Linked DNA regions of Homo sapiens: all the other regions are linked to region 1. Evidence: promoter capture Hi-C in human tissues and cell types (Jung and others, 2019). All regions are on one chromosome and are shown on one strand. Each heading gives the region's core, a stretch centred on a gene start or on the middle of the fragment in contact. The rest is flanking DNA. Distances are from core to core; before and after follow the strand shown.

Region 1 (3,017 bases), core at 453-2,952:
TCTCTAATACAGCATACCACAGTGGTCAAATCCCTTTAACATTTCAATATTATGACAACTACACTCATATATAAATGTTGAAGCACATTTGAGGATTTGTCATTTAAAGTTAATGTAAAACTGCAATTTATAGATTATAAGAAAAATCCATAGCCATGTAACATTTTTTCTCATCCTCAGTGTAAATGTTACTAAATATTCTAGAATAAAATGTAGTGTACATAATCTGTTACCATAATTTTGAGAAAGAATGGTTAACTCAGTACCCTTTCAGTGGCTTTCCTCCACTTATTCTTTCTTCTGCCCACATAGTTGCCTACTCACAGACATTTTTAAAAGTCTTTTAGAGCCATCTTTGTAAAGAAAACAGCGGTCTTCTCTAAAAACAATGTAAATTAGAGATTTTAGTCACTGTCTGTATTCTCCAACTTCACAGAACTCTTAGACTCTAATGGGCAACTTAAGTTCTTTAGCATTATTCTACTAGTCTTATTTCTGTAAACCAAAGATTTGTAAGTAAATTGGTAAGTAGGCAATCTGTCGGCAGAAAGTCTTTGTCTATTGTAACAACTGAAATAATCTTAGCAAATCACAATGTAGGACGATTTAAGGAATCCTAGAAGAGGTATAAAATTATAAGACATTCTCACATCAAATGACAAACTATAATGTACATGTAGACTCTTGTCAGAGATTCAGAGAGTTGTGTCCACCCACTTTCCAAATGCTGTCCAGACATCTAGAAGTCAACCAGGAGATCCTCCCTTCTATTTGGTTTTTCCACAGCTGAAACATTGAACAGCTGTTGTAGGTACAATTCTGGGAAGGTTCTGGGAGAGATGAGTAGGCCCTAAAGGGGTGTCCCAAAAGCATGCATTCATCTCCAGAAACTCAGACTGAGTACGACCCCCACCCCACTTCAGGGCCTGCGGAACCCAGAAGAATCAGACCCCACATCCTGCTCTCTAGGAGACTGGGGTGAGGTGGCAAGGAAGGCGAAGGCACACAAACACTATGATCCTTATATTCGAGTTTTGAGGCATTTTCTCACCCGTGTTTCACCCAGGGCGTTGCATACAGCAGGTGCTCATTTACTGTTTTGGTGACCGACTAAATAAATGTGAAAGACTGAGACGAGCCTGGGGCTACAGGTGCACAACTGCCGTGGTCCCCTGGCCCAGCCGCCCACCACCATCCGCGCCAGAACCCGGTAAGGAGGTCACTCTCTCTATCTATGTCGCCTCAAGCAGCAGTGGCACGCAAAGGTCAGTCAGCCCTGGCCAGGCTGCGCCCTCCCCCCGGACAGCACTCACCGTTGGTGTAGGGAGACCCCGAGGCCAAGGCGGCTCCGTTCTGGGCCTGGAGGCTGGCTGGGGCGCCGCCGGAGGCCGGTATTCCCGGCTGGGACATGATGACTGGGTTGGAAGGGGCTGGTCGGGGTCGACAACAGCGCACAAGAAGAGAGCTGAAAGACCACTGCTGAAAGCGGAGGGAGGAGGCTAACGACTTAAGACTGAAGACTGGGAGAAGAGGGGGGGGCGCATTAAGCCCGAGGCATGGCGCCGCACTCTCCCCAGGCCACCGGCGGCCACAGCCTAGCCTGGGAGCTGAGGCTTGAGAGTCGGGCCGGCGGGGCCGCGAACGCCCGGCTAGAAGGCGGCAGCCAAACCTAGAGAGAAGGAGGGAGGCCCTGGCCGGAAGTGCCTGTCAGCCGCCGGCCGCGCAGCCGCAATCAGGACACGTGGCACTTCCGGCTCCGGGCTCGCAGCAGCCGCCGCCGCGCCGGCGAACTCTTCTCTGCCAGCCGGGCTGCCCCGAGGCCACCTGACAGCTCCTGGTGCCCCGACCCCGACGACCGTGCCCGGCCTCGCCGCCACGTCACCGACTCTCACGGCCGGCCGGAAGTGCCGTGTGTCACCGCTACGGAAATTCCCGCCGTTGTGAACGTGACCTCGCTCGCAGAGCCAGGATCGTGGGGCAATCTGAGATTCAGTAGCCGCTTTCGTGGGGTGGGACTGACAGTTCCTCTCCTCGGGTTTTGTGAAGATTACCTGAGACCATAGAAGTCATCGTCCTCTGTTGAGACCGTACCACCACTGGGAGCTGGGGCGGTTAATGTTCATCGCAGTATTTCATTCACATTTCGTCTTCGTGTTTCAGATGTAAATTATAAGGGGTTTTAAAAAGAGGTGGTTAAATATGTGTACATGTTAATAGTGTGATCAAGCCAAGAAGGAGGCCTTTGTCTTTGACTGGAGGACTCAGAGGAATTTTAATTTTGAAACTCGCTGATTCACAGCATAGTCACGCTCAAGTTCATTAGCACATTTAAATGGCAGTTTTGTTTCCTCTTCTAAGAGTTTACAGTAAGGTAAAGAACTCAAACTTCCTTTCAGAGCAAGTAGACTTTTTTTTTTTTTGCAAGTTGACTTTTTTGACTTTTGAAGCCAAAGGGAGGTCGAAACTGCGGTGATTGGACAACATAGTTAATTAATGATTGAGTAATCATCTTAGCTGCCTTCATTCTATTTAGGTTTTTCCTGCTCTGTGCTGACGATAAAGCCCTCCTTTACAGATTTGTACTGTGGATTAAAATGTCATGCCACGCGGTTTCGAAACCTCAGTGTGAAGTACATCTTACCTAATTCATTTAATACCAAATGCCTGCTATGAAGTGTTATATTACATACAAAAAAAAGCCAGATCTAAACCACTGTGTCGGGCTGGGCAAGGTGGCTCACTCCTGTAATCCAAGCACTTTGGGAGGCTGAGACAGAAGGATTACTTGAGGCCAGGAGTTTGAGACCAGTCTGGACAACAGGGAGAGTCCCCTTATCTCTATTTAAAAAATATATATATATATATATTTTTGAGACAGAGTCTTGGTCTGTTGCCCAGGCTGGAGTGCAGTGGTGCCATCTCCGCTCACTGCAACCTCCGCCTCCTGGGTTCAAGCAATTCTCCTGCCTCAGTCTCCCGAGTAGCTGGGATTACAGGCTCCTGCCACCATGCCTGGC
Region 2 (3,003 bases), core at 56-2,555, 56 kb after region 1:
CTGCAGTGAGCCATGGTCATGCCAGTTCACTCCAGCCTGGGCAACAAAGCAAGACCCTGTCTCAAAAAAACATAAAGCAAAACAAAAAAACCTCTGACCTGGGACTGTCTTTGCCTGAACAGTGGAGCAGTATGGTGGTTTCATCCATTAAGCAGAAGTGTAATGGATGAAGAAGGGAGAATACCCTGTGTTTTAATCCCCTAGGAAAGTACTGAACTTGAAAAATCAAGTGGGCAGAGTAGCTTAACTGTCATGAAATAGTCCAAAGACTGCCCAGTGAAAGTGAATTGGACTTCATCTATGACTCCAGGACTCAAGAGGACCTGTGAATAGAAATGTCAGGTGTCAAAGAGACATTACAATTGAATTTAAGAGAGACCTTTTTAACACAGCTGTGGGTTGCCTTTCAAATGATGGGCTGTTGTTGGAATTCAAACAGTCTCTCCTAGAGAGGGGAACTCCATGGGATAGTGATTGGATGAAATGAGCTCTCACACTCTCCCCAAACTCAGAGGTCCTACAAACCACATGAGGCTTTTCAGATGAGGGCCATGAAGGAGTTAAAATTGACGGGGCAAGTTAGTGCCAATCCCATGCCCTTTCTTGACTGGATGGAAGTATTCCTGGAGGGGAGAGGAATCCCTAAGATTTACTCTCTTCTTGAGAGTCCCCTCTGATCCCCGATGCCTCTACGGGGGCATGTCTACTTCTCCTGTGACATTGGCTCACTTGAGACTCTTTTTTTTTGGGACAGGGTCTCACTCTGCCACCCAGGCTGGGGTACAGTGGTATGATCACAGCTCACTGCAGCCTCCTGGACTCAGACTATCCTCCCACCTCAGCTTCCTGAGTAGCTGGGACTACAGATGCCCACCACCACACCCAGCTAATTTTGTATCTTTTTGTGGAGATGGGGTTTTGCCAGGTTGCCCAGGCTTCACTTGTGACTCTTACCTGGATGTGGCAGAGATAAGGCCCATCCATCAGACCTCCCTCCCAAGCCTCCTAGGATGCTACTTCAGTAAGGAATGGGCATGAATATTCCAGCTGGCATTTAGGGAGCAATGCTTTGATACCAAGCAACAGGCACTAGAACCAGGCAGGCTCCCAGAGTCCCAAAATAGCAGTTCAGAGTACCCACAGGTGAAAGTTTATTTTGCTGAGTCACTTTTCCTCCTTGGCTTCTACAAACCCTTGGCTGTTCTTCTGAGTTTCATGTTAATCACAACATTCAATCCCTAGCAATGGAATGTTCCTTTTTTGCAAAAGGGGTGAGGTGAGGGCACAGGAGGGATGTCCTATTCAACTACCTCTAGCCTCTCGGGTTACAAGCTTTCAGGTGTGAAGGATGATCACAGAGCTGACAAGGGGCCTGAGTAACCCACAAGGCTGGGGAGCTGTGTGGTTTTTTGGCCCAGGCAGCTGACTGTCAGATATGTGACTGAAGCGGCTTCTCTGACCATCAGCTGTTTGCAACCAGCCCCCATCTAGGGGCTGCACCGGGCCAGTCCCTAGAGTGGAACTGACCCCAGACCACCGTTGGGCTTAGGGAGGCCCGTGAAAACTTGTAAACAAACAGGGTTTACCGGCTCAGAATCCGGGAAGTGAGAGTTGGTAAACAAATCCCTCTGGCCTCCTTGCCTCTGGTCAGTCAGCAAGTCTGTGAGTGCTCTCCTGTACCACTGTGTCCTGCCCTCCTCTAACACCTTTTGTGGCTCCTCATTTTGTCCACTTCATACCCATGTCCTCTTTGAGCCTCTCAGCCACCCTGCATGGTGGGCCCAGCAGGAGCTCTCATCCTTATTAACAAATGAGGAAACTAAGGGCCAGAATGCAGGTCAATAATTTTCCATTACCCCAAGGACAACAAAATTCCATTTCTAGCAGCTTCCTCTTTCGTGGTGGATTCATGGATAAATTCTCTAGACTTGAATGGCCACATGTTGCTTAATGTTCATTGAGAATGGAGGGAAGTGGCCGGGAGCAGTGGCTCATGCCTGTAATCCCAGCACTTTGGGAGGCTGAGGTGGGCGGATCACCTAAAGTCAGGAGTTTGAGAATGGAGGGAAGAATAAGGGGGACCACCCACTAAATACAAACCTCTAGACCCGAGGCAACCCACTTGAGCATTATCCCAAAGACAGAGGCCTCCATCCCTATCAGGGAGGCCTAGGCCCCCTTCCAAGCCTGAGGAGGGATGCCTCCTCTTCTCTTCCAGTGCCTCTAGGCCCTGCTCCATGCTTCACCGTGTCACTATCCCAGCCCGACCTGGCATCTCACCCCATGACCACGCCCATGACTAATCCTGTGCTCCTAATGGCACACTCACCTGGTGACAGATGAGTCAGCCGCCACAATGGTGTTCTGATGGTGCAAAGGTGACAAGCTGAGTGGATAAAGCTTCTTCCTTCTCTCCTCTGCCCAAGTTGTGTATGGAGGCTCACCCAGCCCCATCTGCCAGCTAGCCCCACCTCACCCAGCTGGCCTCAAGTTAAAGGGCCCTGGTGAGATAGGAGAATAGGGAATTAGGGTCACCAAGGATCAAGGCATAAGCAAAAGAACAGCAGGTGCAGCCACTTCTAGGCAAGATTAGGCAGCATACAGGCCACATCCTCACTCCTGTGATAACAAGACAGAAATTTCCACTTCAGCCTCTGATTGACCACGGGCCAAGTATCCACTTCAGCCTCTGATTAGTTGCTGGCCAATCTGTCATAGGGTATAACCAACTGGAGGCCTTTAAAGGGTACCTAGGAGTGTTACCAAATTCTTTTTTTGTTTTTGAGACAGAATCTTGTCCTATCACCCAGGCTGGATTGCAGTGGCTTGATCTCCACTCACTGCAAACTCTGCCTCCTGGGTTCAAGCAATCCTCCCATCTCAGCCTCCAGAGTAACTGGGACCACAGGCACACCACCATGCTCAACTAATTTTTTCTTTCTTTCTTTCTCTCTCTCTTTTTTTTTTTTTTAGTAGAGACTGGGTTTTACCATGTTGGCCAGG
Region 3 (3,206 bases), core at 414-2,913, 55 kb before region 1:
CACTCCAGCCTGGGCAATAAGAGCGAGACTCCATCTCAAAAAAAAAAAAAAAAAGATATAGCTAAGTTCAGTGTAGACAAATATATAAATATATAGAGACAGAAAGTAGTTTAGTGGTTACTTAAGGCCAGTAAGGGAGGGAGGAAGAAGTGGGCAGTAACTGCTAATGAGCATGAGGTTCCTCTTGAGACAATAGAAATGTTATAAAATTAGATTGTGGTGATAGCTGTACAACTCTGTAAAAACACTAAAAACAAATGAATTATCAATTAAACTGGGTGAAGTGGTATGGTATGTAATTATATCTCAATAAATTTGTTTAAATAAACAAACAAAAAAGATAAGATTATCTGCAGCAGATCTTTTCAAATAGTTACTTAGCAGGCACCCAGGGGATCTAAAACATTCAAACTATAAAGCTAACTATTTAAAGGAAAACAAAACTGTTTGGATGTGCCTAATGTTATTACTTGTAAGATATTTATAACAGATAACAACTCTTACCCATATTGGCCAATAACCCTGAAATTGCTTGAACATCAGCTCCAAGAAAGACATCATTCAGAGTCGAAACTACTGGCAAACACAAAGTATGAACACGAATTCTTCTTTCGCCTTTGGGGAAAATACACAAACAACAGTGAGGGGCAACTATATAAAACAAAAGATTATGTTAAAGTCACTTGGAAAAATCACTTCTTAGCTGGGTGCAGTGGTGCATCCCTGTAGTCCCACCTACTCCAGAGGCAGAGACAGGAGGATCCCTTGAGCTCAGGAGTTTAAGTGCAGCCTGGGCAATACAGTGAGACTCCATCTCTTAAAAAAAAATAAATTAATTAAAAAAAAAAAAATATATATATATATATATATAAATATAAATATAAATAACTTCTTTTCGATTTAGAACCAGGTAGTATAGTTACATAGTAAGCAGAGACAGTATCAAACGTTTTATACTGGCCAGACACAGTGGCTCACACCTGTAATCCCAGCACCCAGCACTTTGGGAGGCTAAGGTGGGAGGATTACCTGAGGCCAGGAGTTCAAGACAGGGCTGAACAACATAGTAAGACCCTATCTCTATTAAAAATAAATAAGTACATAAATATTAAAAATTTCATCCTTTTTTTTTTTTTTTAGAAACAAGGTCTCATTCTGTTGCCCAGGCAGGACTGCAGTGGCACAATCATAACTCACTGCAGCCTCAAACTCCTGGGCTCAAACAATCCTCCCTACTCAGCCTCCCAAGTAGGTAGGACTACCAGTGTGTGCCACTATACCTGGCTAATTAAAAAAATATTTTTTTAGAGACAGTGTCTCACTATGTTGTCCAGGCTGGTCTTGAACTCCTGGCCTCAAGTGATCCTCCCTAGTCAGCCTTCCAAAGTGCTAGGTTTACAGACCACCACACCTGACCCTACTTCTTTTAATTGTTTTAACTATAAAATTCTTTTCATTCAGGTTATTACTAAATGAACAGGGATCGCATTCAAATGACAATATGCTAAATTTTTAAAAATCTCTTTTTTGAACTTTTTAGTTGGTTTACTGCTTTTGGTAATGAAAATTTTAAGGGCTGGGCGCAGTGGCTCATGCCTGTAATCCCAGCACGTTGGGAGGCAGAGGCGGGCAGATCACGAGGTCAAGAGATTCACACCATCCTGGCCAGCATGGCAAAACTCCATCTCTACTAAAATTACAAAAATTAGCTGGATGTGGTGGCGCACACCTGTACTCCCAATTACTCGGGTGGCTGAGGCAGGAGAATCACTTGAACCCAGGAGGCAGAGGTTGCAGTGAGCAGAGACTGCGCCACTGCACTCCAGCCTGGTGACAGAGTGAGACTCTGTCTCTACATAAATAAATAAATAAATAAATAAATAAATAAAAACAGCAATTTTAAGTTAGCACACATAAGATATGCTACATGTATTTTATAGCCCATTTTGACATTTGAAATCCAGACAATATTTGAACATTTGAAATCCAAAAAAAAACAAACAATTTACCTTTGCTGGATGTATACAAGAGTGCTGACTGAAAAGAAACCAACTGAGTGTCAGTAAGACTCTCTTCCACTGACATCTGTACTGCATACCCAGCGTCTGGGTTGACGTTAGGCAAAGACAGTAAGTCGGTTGACCTAACAAAGAAGTTTCCATGGAAAGTATGAATGGAAAGACCTAGAAGAGAAAAAGGTAACAAAATTATTTTTATATACCTACATACTGATATTTACATTTTATCCTAGTTACTTATCAGATTGGCAAAAAGTAAAGAAATCTAGATAATACACAGTACTTAGTGAGGTTAAGGAATAACAGATGGCTTTTGAAATGAAGGTGGGGATACTAATTTTCAAAAAACATTTTTGGGTCAGGTGCGGTAGCTCACGCCTGTAATCCCAGCACTTTGGGAGGCCAAGGTGGGTGGATCGCCTGAGGTCAGTTTGAGATCAGCCTGGCCAATAACATGGTGAAACCCTGTCTCTACCAAAAACACAAAAATTAGCCGAACATGGTGGCAGGCGCCTGCAATCCCAGCTACTCAGGAGGTTGAGGCAGGAGAATTGCTTGAACCCGGGAGGCAGAGGTTGCAGTGAGCTAAGATTGCGCCACTGCACTCCAGCCTGGGCGACAGAGCAAGACTCTGTCTCAAAAAGAAACACAAAAAACATTTTTGGACGATAATTTGGCAGTATCTATCAAAATTCTAGATACTTATTTTGACTTTAGCAATCCCATATCAAAGAATGTGTCCTACAGATATACTCATTTAAGTGCCAAATTCACACATGCAGAAAAATTTCAAGTAGACTGGTGTGTCACAGCAAAAAAAATTTAGAAATACCTTCAATGGGTATCAGTAGAAAAACTAGGCCAGGCACAATGGCTCATGCCTGTAATCCCAACACTTTCGGAGGCTGGTGCAGGCAGATCACTTGAGGTCAGGAGTTCGAGACCAGCCTTGGCAACATGGTGAAATCCTGTCTCTACTAAAAATACAAAAATTAGCCGGGCATGGTGGCACACGCCTGTAGTCCCAGCTACTCGGGAGGTTGAGGCAGGAGAATCGCTTGAACCTGAGAGGCAGAGGTTGCAGTGAGCCAAGATCGCGCCACTGCACTCCAGCCTAGGTGACAGAGTGAGACTCTGTCTCAAAAAACAACAACAACAACAACAAACAAACAAAAACTAAACTGTGAT

The links. Contacts are between HindIII fragments. The study calls those that stand out against the background at their distance.
Region 2: a fragment that was not itself captured here is called in contact with the fragment with the promoter of SEC24A in region 1 in 3 of the 25 tissues and cell types used here (H1 embryonic stem cells, psoas muscle and small bowel).
Region 3: a fragment that was not itself captured here is called in contact with the fragment with the promoter of SEC24A in region 1 in 1 of the 25 tissues and cell types used here (small bowel).

What each region holds. Positions count from the first base shown.
Region 1 is chr5:134,647,470-134,650,486 of GRCh38, reverse strand. It overlaps SEC24A (SEC24 homolog A, COPII component), which reads right to left and starts at 1,702. Exons shown (of 23, transcript NM_021982.3): 1 at 1,314-1,702. The coding sequence starts at 1,410. RefSeq lists enhancers at 1,517-2,054, 1,802-2,091, 2,102-2,161. The HindIII fragment of the contact is 35,050 bases long and covers 1-3,017 here.
Region 2 is chr5:134,590,796-134,593,798 of GRCh38, reverse strand. No RefSeq gene overlaps it. Among named protein-coding and RNA genes, the nearest start is that of SAR1B, 41 kb to the left of the region's middle. RefSeq lists enhancers at 787-1,380, 2,201-2,260. The HindIII fragment of the contact is 7,095 bases long and covers 1-3,003 here.
Region 3 is chr5:134,702,736-134,705,941 of GRCh38, reverse strand. It overlaps SEC24A (SEC24 homolog A, COPII component), which reads right to left. Exons shown (of 23, transcript NM_021982.3): 16 at 2,010-2,183; 17 at 505-615. Among named protein-coding and RNA genes, the nearest start is that of CAMLG, 34 kb to the left of the region's middle. The HindIII fragment of the contact is 7,432 bases long and covers 1-3,206 here.